Regions from separate parts of the Homo sapiens genome. Here regions 1 and 2 are each linked to region 3. Evidence: promoter capture Hi-C in 16 types of primary human blood cells and fetal thymus (Javierre and others, 2016). All regions are on one chromosome and are shown on one strand. The core of a region is centred on a gene start or on the middle of the fragment in contact, and the rest is flanking DNA. Distances in the headings are between cores, read along the strand shown. Region 1 overlaps ZBED6 (zinc finger BED-type containing 6). Region 2 overlaps ZBED6 (zinc finger BED-type containing 6). Region 3 holds the start of OPTC (opticin).

Region 1 (3,819 bases), core at 363-2,862, 340 kb before region 3:
TGCCTGGGCGATACAGCAAGGCCCCATTCTCAAGAAAAAAAAAAAAAGAGAGACAAGGGAAAGAACAAAAAATTAGAATACACAAACATTTACCAAATAAATTAACTGACAAACCTACAAATGAAAGGTCATAAACCCTGGTTGAGATTAAAGTTCAGAATTAGAAATGTGAAAAATCTTCATGTACAAAAGAACCCTTTTTTTTTTTTTTGAGACAGGATCTCACTCTGTCACCCAGGCTGGAGTGCAGTGGTGCAATCTCAGCTCACTGCAACCTCCACCTCCTAGGCTCAAGCGATCCTCCCACCTCAGCCTCCCAAGTAGCTGGACTATAGGCACATGCCATGCCTGGTTAATTTTTGTATTTTTAGTAGAGACAAGGGTTTGCCATGTTGCCCAGGCTGGTCTTGAACTCCTGAGCTCAGGTGATCTGCCCACTTCAGCCTCCAAATGCTAGGATTACAGCACTATGCCAGGCCCCCCCAAAAATCTTAACTGGTCAGCTGCTGAATTAAGTAAATGCATACAGGATGAGGAAGACAGGTTAAGAATTATTAAATTTTAAGTTTTTTAGTATGAAGACTTTAAGAGCCACATAACCCCTCTCTCTCCAATTCTAGAAAAGAAATCTAAGGTTCTGAAATATTCTGTATCTTACCCAAGTCATCAACTAGTTAGTGATACAGCCAAGACCTAAATCAAGTTTCCTAATTCTAGCTGCTTTCTGAGACGGAGTCTCATTCTTTCGCCCAGGCTGGAGTGCAGTGGGAAGATCTCAGCTCACTGCCACCTCCACCTCCCGGGTTCAAGCGATTCTCCTACCTCAGCCTCCCGAGTAGCTGGAATTACAGGCGCATGCCACCATGCCTGGCTGATTTTTGTATTTTTAGTAGACTTTTTTGTAGTAGAGATGTTTGTATTTTTAGTAGTTTCACCATGTTGATCAGGCCGGTCTCGAACTCCTGACCTTGTGATCCACCTGCCTCAGCCTCTCAAAGTGCTGGGATTACAGGCGTAAGCTACCGCGCCCAGCCTTCTAGTTTTATTACACTGTTCAATACAAGTTGTTTAAAAGTCACCAGTTTTTAAAAACGGTTTTTTAGATTACTTGACTGAAGTTACATTGTTTGCAAGGTATCAAAGCTTCAAAAGACCCTACACAGAGTATGATTGTTTCTCTCCCCTCATTTATAATTTAAATATAAAACCATCACAAAGTTTACAGGTATGCTGATGTTAAAACAGCTCATTTCTATATTTTAAGAACTTTTAATTATTATTTTTAGAGACAGGGTCTTGCTATGTTGCCCAGACTGGACTCAAACTCCTGGACTCAAGGGATCCTCTAACCTCAGCTGCCCACGCAGCTGGGATGACAGGCATGCACCACCATACCTGGCTTAGTATTATTTTTTTCTACCTAAAATTTCTAGATCAGCTTTATCCAAGCTGAAAGTCCTATTAATTTGGAACCCTGGTTTGGTTTGTACTCTAAATACATGCTGAGATATTAAAATACTGCTCTTAGCTCTCCCCACCATCTTGGATCCTGTGGAGGCCTCCTGGGAACAGGACTTCTTAAAGGAAGTATGTCTGGAAGGCTGTGGTCCAAGGGCATTTTTGCTGGCTATAAGTGGGGTCTCCGGAAAAAAAGGGAGCACATAGCTTTTCTTAAAATTGAAGGTGTTTATGCCCCAGATGAAACAAAATTCTATTTGGGCAAGAGATGTGCTTATGTATACAAAGCAAAGGACAACACAGTGACTCCTGGTGGCAAACCAAACAAAACCAGAGTCATCTGGGGAAAGGTAACTCAAGCCCATGGAAACAGTGGTGTGGTTCATGCCAAATTCCAAAGCAATCTTCCTGCTAATGCTATTGGACACAGAATCTGAGTGACGCTGTACACCACAAGGGTTTAAGCTAATGAAAAGTCAGTAAAAGTGGATTTGCGCTATTGTAAATAAATAAATAAACAAAAATAAAATACTGCTCTTAAAATCTAGAACTGTTATTGTTTCTTGATTTACAGCTAGAAGAGATTTCTAAAGACTGCCTCATTTCTGTCTCTTCTAAGCTTTTTTCGTAAATGACTGTATAACGTGTAATGTATTCATCTGACTATAACCTTAGGCAAGTTATTTAACCCTTCCTGAGTTTGAGCTCAGTGCAGAAAATATTTACTGATATCAAGTGCCAAGCATTGTGCATGGTTTACTCATGGTTGCCAAGGATTCGATGAGAATTTACATAATGTTCTTTGATATACAGCAAAGCCACAGCAAATATTAATTTCATTCATGGGCATTATCTCATCGCTGAAAGTTTTTTATTACTTAGAGCGTAAAGTGCATAACTGATTCAACAATACATTCCCATCTCTCACTGTCTGAAACTTTGAAATGTGACTAAGTTCAGAACGGTTCTGAAGATAGGGTAGTGAGAACTGCATCAAAGACAACACAAAATAGAGATAGATAAGGTTTCCTTTTTAGGACATTTAAAACAGTATGAAGAAAATTCTGAAGTCAGAAAAAATTTTCAAAATAATTTTTTGAAGGCCAGAGCAGTGGCTCATGCCTATAATCCCAGCACTTTGGGAGGCAGAGGCGGGTGGATCACCTGAGGGCAGGAGTTCGAGACCAGCCTGGCCAACATGGTGGAAACCCCATCTCTACTAAAAATACAAAAATTAGCCAGGGGTAGTGCCTGTAATCCCAGCTACTTGAGAGGCTGAGGCAGGAGAATCACTTGAACCCAGGAGGTGGAGGTTGCAGTGAGCTGAGATTGTGCCAGTGCACGCCAGCGTGGGCGACAGAGCAAGACTCTCGTTTCAAATGATAATAATAATTTTTTGGAGTCAGACACGTTAGGGTAGTTATACAACAATTTACTAATATGGTAAAGTACTCCCCCAAAAATAAAATAGCAGCCAAGCATGGTATCTCATGCCTGTAATTGCAGTACTTTGGGAGGCCAAGGCCGACAGATCACTTGAGCCCAGGAGTTGGAGACCAGCCTGGGCAACATGGTGAAACCCTATCACTATAAAAAATACAAAAATTAGCCAGGTATGGTGGTGTAGGCCTATGGTCCCAGTTACTTGAGAGGCTGGGGCAGGAGGATCACTTGAGTCCAGGAGGTGGAGGTTGCAGTGAGCTGAGATTGCACCACTGCACTCCAGCCTGGGTAACAAAACAAGACTCTTGTCTCTAAATAAATAAATAAATAAGCAAGCACCAATAGACTCAAGGACTCAAATTTTATATATACATACTTTCTTCTTTCTTCTTAGGGATTCCTGTATTCTAAGAGACACACATTATATTAACCAATCATTTTTCTCGCCTCTAAAAACTCACATTTAAATTTGTTCAGAGAAATAGAGGTGTTCTTTACCATTTTTAAAATCTAGTTCCTTCCAAAACGCTGGTCATGGTCATAATCTAGTTCAATTGTAACACTTTAAATCTCTGTATCTTCAATAAAAGGTATAATGCACTCATGAAAACATGAGGAATTTATAAGTGCTTTCAGCCAATACAGGGGCACCAATAACAAAGATCTGTATAAAAAGAGTTTGGAGAAGCTATCATGTTAATGCACAAACAAGTAGAAAAGAAAAGATATACACAAAACTTATCTTACCTGCTGAAAATTTTCGTTTCCCCAGTCTCTCAGTAAGACTCAATCTAACCAAGGGTTCTTCTCCTGAAATGGCAAAAGCAGAATTTCTCTATCCTTAGTCAATTTTTCTGTATTCAGTAACTACTAATGGGTACAAAGTATGTTCTGATATTAGTGTAAATCCACCCAGAA
Region 2 (2,937 bases), core at 133-2,632, 300 kb before region 3:
CTCTGAAAGGCTGGGGTTGAGAAATAGTTGTAAGGATGCATATCCTCCACAATCATTTGGATAATTGCCTGACTTATGTGACTTGAGACTGGATTTCCACAACATGTTGTTTCTCTCTCCTGCGCACGCATCAGAGTGCCTTGCTCTGCAACGGGAATAGGACTTTCAGATCTGTTTTCAACCTCTAACATAGGTTCATCTGAATCAGAGTCACTAAGGTCCTCAGCTGTTAAATCTTGGCTGCCTGTAGACTTTTCTCCATGCAAGGTATCACTCAAGAGATCACTTCTCTCAGTCTCAGCTTCATCTAATCCATTTGCAACAGCACCACTGTCTTTGTTGGCAACAGCCCAATGGATAGGATGTGTGGCTTGCAGGTGTCGTTGAAGTGTTGAAGTCCCTAAGTGGGACCCTGGCCTACCCCGGCTCACACTTCTTTTACATATATTACACACAGCTCTTGAGATGTGCTGAGGATCAGTGTAAAAAAAATTCCAAACGGCAGATGTCTTGGCTCTAGTTCCAGGAATTAAAGCATGCTTGACAATGTTACTTTTGATGAGAAATCTCCCTCTTTCTGCCCTTAGGGCATCAGATGCTGATTTATCATGCTTCTTGCCCATTCTATTATCATCTAATGGATCAGTAGGAATATATTCAAAGCTTCCATTGCTTCCAGAAGAGGGAGATAAAGACACATCCAAGGTAAAGTCCTCCTCTCCACTAGCAACTCCAAACTTGTTGGCCCTGGTCCAATGAGGTGAATGCCTTGCTTGCAGATGTCGTTGAAGAGTAGATGTACCAAGATGGCTACCTGGTTTACCCCTGCTGACGCTTTTCTCACAGAGGTTACAAATGGCCCGCCAGGTGTACTGGGGGTCAACATGAAAGAAGTGCCACACAATGGAGGTCTTGGCTCTAGTACTAGGTAGATAGATCTGTTTTTCTATATTGCTCTCAAAAAGACTTTCTTCATCCTGCTCAGGGTCATTGGAAGCTAACAAAGCAGGGGCATCTGCAACAGGCCTCCCAGATCCCAAATCCTTACTAAACTTTTTGGCAAGAATCAATTTTTTTCGACGCCTTTTCCCCTTAATTCGCAAACCCTTCTTTCTTTTCTTTTTAGCAGGCTGTTTTGCCTCTTTATTCACTCCTTCTGCTACCATCTTTTCCTCTACCACATCTTCTTCATCTGTATTAGAATTAATAGGAACACATCCCAGAATCCCAGAATCACTAAAAGTGTTGCATCTTCTGCCAGGAGAGAGTGAAGAAACTGGTACACTTAGAGTACATACACTCATTCTCTTTATGTCTCCACAATTCGTACCAGAATCTGTTAGTGGGTTTATTACTCAAGCAGAAATACAGCTGTTCCTCTCTACTTGCATTACCTTTTCTCCAGTTTCTATGGGGAATCAAATTCCCACTGGACCAATAACTTCCAAGCCAGGTTATTTTTGGAGGAAAACTGACAGCAATGGAGAACATTCCCGAACTCTTTCTTAGAGGGCTTTAAGGTCCCTTCCAATTTTCTAAGTTCTGAATTCAAATAGTCCAGTGTCCTCATGTTACAGAAGTAAGAACTGAGTCCCCCTTTCCCAGAGTCACAGAGTTGGTTAGTAGCAGCTAGAAGCCAGGTCTTCCAAATCCCAGATCCATGTTCTTCCTGCTTCATCAAGAACTATATCTACTTGAAATGCCTTCACCTTGTAAAATACATATTTTTATGATGCCTCATGATAGCGACATCAATTTCCCTTAATTCTGAAATTAACTATTTTCAGGAAATCTCATTTAAACAAAAACATAGTGCATCATTCAACATTCATCATTTAGGACTGTGATTTGCCAATACAACCCAAAAAGTCAATTCTGGAAAGCCAACACAGACTCCGCATACTGGTCACAGCAAATGCTAGTTGAGCCCTTTCAGTTCTAACTAAAAGTAATACAACCTTTTAAAATGTGAGTGGCTGGAAAAAAATGCTTTGAGAAAAAAATTTTAAAACAAGGTTAAATGCTGCATTTTCAAAGTACTGTTTGTATTAAGAGTTAATTCAAGTTTAGTTTTCAGATATTTTTAGACTTGAGAAGCTTTTACAGCCTGTAAGTAACTCACAAGTTGTACGCTATAGAGATAGCAAAAAGTGAAATATGAACTTTAAACCACTTCCATTTTTCGATTGATCCCTCCCCTTCCCCCAATACCTACATACATTTACCCTAAAAAGCATCGCTATCTCTAGTTCCACAGCCTCTTTCTCAAGGTCCAGAACCAAGGCCTGGAAGATGTCAACAATATAGGCCTTCCCCATAGGAATCCGCACCGATTATGGGAGTTTAGGGGTGTTCTTCATTACGGTTTCACCAGTCCTACAAGGAGAACGGAAGTGTCCCTGTTGCTCTTGACTCCGACGCTGAGGGCCAGGGGTGGGAGTGTAATGAGAGTGGGGAATGGGTGTAGGATACCGGAATAAGGTCGGTGGCTTTCTGTATGTGGAGTTTGAGACAAGCTCCAAAGTACCGGGACCCTGGAGAGGAATGAGAGTAGGTAAATTCAGCGCCCGGCACTCAGTCTGATTGATTTAGGCAGTGAGGGTCCGCTCAACTAGAGAAACTGTTGCCCCGAAGAAAGCAATCTAGTGTCAGTTCTCTCTTCGGGATTCGGGGGAACAGTCGGTTTTCGGGGCTGCTCCGGGCTCCTCGAGATTAGCGAACACCGGATGTGGGGGAGGGGAGGAAGGTTGGCTGGGAAAGGAGCAGGCGCCGTGGGGGTGGGGTGAACGGGGTGGGGGTGGGGAGGATGGGAAAAGTGAGCGGGAGCCTGGGGCTCCCAGCCAGCCCCGGCGAGGGCCGCGACCGGGAGGTGGGGGGGAGGGGTCGTTACGGCGAAGCTGAAGGATCCGCTCTGACTTCCCGGGATAGGCCGCGACC
Region 3 (3,820 bases), core at 479-2,978:
CTTCCCACCCCCACACTTGCAGACTCAGTGCTCTCATCACATGCACAAATTCCCTACCAGCTGGGACTATGTCTTGGGGGGTATCTCCTAGCAGCCCCCTCCCTCCACCGCCCCACTTGAGTGTTTTTACACGCTCACCCAAACACTGATATTCACTCACAGAGGCATGTGCAGACACATCTCAACACAGACACATTCACAAGAGTCCCCTTGTTTACAAACGAGGCACACACTGGTGCATGCACACAGATGTCCTCTCTTAAACAACCCCATGCTCAGAACATGACTGCTAGTCACTAAGCTCGATTTAGAGAATGTCAACATCAAATAATCTTATGGGGTCTTTTTGTTTGTTTGTTTTTTTGAGACGAAGTTTCATTCTTGTTTCCCGGGCTGGAGTGCAGTGGTGCGATCTTGGCTCACTGCAACCTCCGCCTTCTGGGTTCAAGCGAATCTCCTGCCTCAGCCTCCTGAGTAGCTGGGATTACAGGCACCCACCATGCCTGGCTAATTTTTGTATTTTTAGTAGAGAAGGGGTTTCACCATATTGGCCAGGCTGGTGTCGAACTCCTGACCTTAGGTGATCCACCCACCCTGGCTTCCCAAAGTGCTGGAATTACAGGTGTGAGCCACCGCGCCCAGTTGACTCTTGTGGTTTTTTATAAAGATCATCCATTCATGCATTTGCTCAACAAACATTTATGGGTGTCTATTGAGTTCCAGGCACAGGACTTGTCTCTGTGGGTACAGAATGAATGAGGCACAGCCCTTCCTAGGAGCACCTAGTCTCTTTAGGAGACATGGACTTACAATGAAACATACAATGTAAAAAAGAATGTTAGTTTATGAAATATACTTCTAAATGCAGCTTTTTAGAAACAGATTATTACAGATAAAAGAGTTCTTTGTGTGTGATTGCATGAGTGTGTACGCATCTGGAAATTTCCTTAGATACCTGTGTATATTTGTGTGTGTGTGCACACAGATGCCTGCGTATGTATGTGATATGCATGTGAGTACAAATGTTCATGTAGTTCGTATATGTATAGACGGGTCAGGAAATGCATGTGGTGTGGTTTTGTATCCAGGCATAAGTGTATACAACAGTCATACCCAGTGTAGGCTTAACACAGCCCTCCCCAAAGCTAGCTGCACAAGTTTCTAGTAGACTCTCCCTCTTTCTTTCTTTTAAAATTTTTTTTATCTTTTAATTTTTATTTTATTTTCTATTTTTAAGACGGTGTCACTCTGTTGCCCAGCCTGGAGTGTTATGGCATGATCTCAGCTCACTGAAGCCTTAACCTCCTGGGCTCAGGCAGTCCTCCTGCCTCAGCCTCCCAAGTAGCTGGGACTACAGGCGTGTGTTACCATGCCCAGTTAACCTCCCCACCCTTTCTTAATTTTAGCTGGGCAAGGGGGCAAGCCTCTAGCAGTAGCAAGAGGTGTTTCTTCACCTTACCTCCCATACCTCACCCCAAACGAATTACATAATCTCAAAAAAAATTTTTCTAAGAGAGTTTAGTGCCCACCCAAAAGTCTTGTCCAACTTCTTTGGCCAGAGGCCTAAACTCTCTTCATTTTCCCTTCCCAATCCCCTGCCCCAGCCAAACACTTTGCCCTCATTTGCGCACCGATGGCCAGAGGCCTCAACCTTGAGCCTTACCCCTTCAATGCTTCTGGATCCTGGATGGAGAGCCCTGCAGCTTCCAGAAAGGTGGGGACTCTGGTGGAGGCTGTCTGAACTGGGGCTTGGGTTAGACAGTGGTGCCCGGGGGAGGGCAAGGAGTTGGCCAGGCCTGCGACCAATCAGACTTCTCATTCCTTCTGATGTCCAGCTGTTTCCCCTCCTCTTTCCTCAGGGGGTCCCCTGCCCCATTCCTGTATTTGACAAAAGAGAATTCTCCCCCCACCTTCCGCTTCACCCCCCACCTCCAGCTCCTGCTCTCTCTCCTCTTACTCTGTCAGCTCCTTCTTTCTTTTCCTTGTCCACTCTCCTGATAAGGCCACATCTTTGAGGAACAGGGAGTGCCATCCCCTGCAAGGAAGGGGCCCCATCCCTCAGATTCTGAGTCCTCAGAGAAGGCTGGAGTCGGGGGATATGGAGAGATAGAGCTTGTCTTTGCAGCTTCTTTCTCCAGCCAGAGAGTGACAAGGCTTCAGCTTCATAGCCAGAATCCAAAGATAAAAATAGGTGGAAATGAGGCACTTCACCCTCACCTAGAGCGCCAGCACAGAGACCATAATTGAATAAAATCACCAGAGACAGGAGCTGCAGGCCTAGGTAGTTCAAAGAGAAGGTGTATGGGGGATGAGATCGGATTTGAAAGCCAACTTCAAGTTCACAGATGATGATCATGAGGATACGGGAAATTCTCTAAATCTGCTAGGAGGAAACCAAATGGAAATTGGGAGGTGGGCCCTAGAAAGGATCATAAACACCAGTAGACATTGTGTAGGGTCTCGGGGGCCTGGGAAGTATCCTCTCCCGCACCCTCAGAGATGTACAGTCGTCCCTCAGTAACCATGGGGGATTGGTTCTGCACGTCCAGTGGATACCAAATCCACATATGCTGAGGTCTTTTATATAAAATGGTGAATTTGCACATAACCTACGCACATCCTCCTGTGTACTTCAAATCATCTCTAGATTACCTATAACACCAAACACAATGCTTACACCTCACTCCATTCACATGGATTCCACATAGTACTGGCACACAGCAAATTCAAGTTTTCCTTTTTGGAACGTTGTGAATTTTTTTTTTTTCTGAATATTTTCAATCTGTGGTTGGTTGAATCCACGGATGTGGAACCCACAGATACAGAGGGCCAACGGCATTCATCTGGAAACACTCCCCTTTCCTTGGTGCCTCGAGCAGGCTGCCGAGCAAGTCCTTGCTGAAGGCAGAGGTGGGGTGGCTAAGGAGTCTTCCCCAGCTTCTGCCAGCCTGTGCCCTGGCGCCCACCCAGGTTTCTCAGTGACTCTCCTTGTTCCCTACTCCTTTCCACCAACCAGATACTGAATTCCAGCTGTGAGGCCCCCTAAAGATCTAGTCCAAGTCCTTGTGGTATAGATGAGGAGAGTGAGGCCCAAAGAGGTGACGTGACTTGCCCTAGGTCACACAGAGCCAGGGCCAATGCCTAGATTTTTTGACTCCCTGGTCAGAGAGTTTTCTTTAGTTCATATGACCCTCCCCATTTCCACCTTCTTCCCCAGGAGTCCTGAATCCGTGTGTTTCCAGGCCCTCAGAGCAGATGGCTTGGCAGAACTCATCTCTGCCCTGGCACACCAGGTGAAGAGGCAGATCTAATAGCCTGGCCCTCGAGGGCAGCATTTGGCTTGCTGTGTTCCTGGGCTCCAGCTGGTGCAAGAGGGGGCTTCCCTCAGCCCAAGAGCCTGGTCACCAGAGAAGAGCATGTTCTTGTACCCCTGGCAGCCCCCCACCTGGGAAAAGACACCATCAGAGGCTCTGCTGGGTGGAGGGAAAGATAGCCCTGGATCCTGGAGGGCATCCAGTAGGCAGATGGCACATTTGGCGGGCTGTATGCCTCCATCTTCTCTCCACAGCCTGGGCTTTGCAGCCAGAGGCCCTCCACCCCCACAGCCAGCCTAGGCAATCTCCCCGCTCCCACCCCACACATTTATTCCTGGGAGAAATGCAAATGCGAGTGTTCATTCACTCTCCCTGCCGCCTGCTCCCACTCTCCCTCCCTGCTTTCCCAGAGACATACGCTCCTGCCATCCCTGCTTGGTTGCCACACCCCCACCATCGTTCCTCCCCAATGCATACACACCTGCTCCCCCCACTCCCTGCAGGAG

Evidence for each region. The method cuts DNA at HindIII sites, captures the fragments that hold promoters and counts their contacts. A CHiCAGO score of 5 or more calls a contact.
Region 1: a contact is called between a fragment that was not itself captured here and the fragment with the promoter of OPTC in region 3, in 1 of 17 cell types (endothelial precursors). The highest score is 6.0, in endothelial precursors.
Region 2: a fragment that was not itself captured here is called in contact with the fragment with the promoter of OPTC in region 3 in 3 of 17 cell types (M1 macrophages, endothelial precursors and M0 macrophages); the score reaches 6.5 in M1 macrophages.

What each region holds. Positions count from the first base shown.
Region 1 is chr1:203,833,683-203,837,501 of GRCh38, reverse strand. ZBED6 (zinc finger BED-type containing 6) reads right to left here. Exons shown (of 17, transcript NM_001395895.1): 9 at 3,649-3,711. ZC3H11A (zinc finger CCCH-type containing 11A) reads right to left here. Exons shown (of 18, transcript NM_001376342.1): 10 at 3,649-3,711. It also overlaps the pseudogene RPL35AP5. Among named protein-coding and RNA genes, the nearest start is that of SNRPE, 26 kb to the left of the region's middle. The HindIII fragment of the contact is 934 bases long and covers 1,146-2,079 here.
Region 2 is chr1:203,795,890-203,798,826 of GRCh38, reverse strand. ZBED6 (zinc finger BED-type containing 6) reads right to left here. Exons shown (of 17, transcript NM_001395895.1): 1 at 1-2,937. The coding sequence starts at 1,304. The region is part of intron 1 of ZC3H11A (zinc finger CCCH-type containing 11A); the gene reads right to left. Among named protein-coding and RNA genes, the nearest start is that of ZC3H11A, 1.7 kb to the right of the region's middle. The HindIII fragment of the contact is 1,434 bases long and covers 666-2,099 here.
Region 3 is chr1:203,492,061-203,495,880 of GRCh38, reverse strand. OPTC (opticin) reads right to left here and starts at 1,728. Exons shown (of 8, transcript NM_014359.4): 1 at 1,664-1,728. RefSeq lists a silencer at 2,007-2,235 and an enhancer at 3,623-3,820. The HindIII fragment of the contact is 16,129 bases long and covers 1-3,820 here.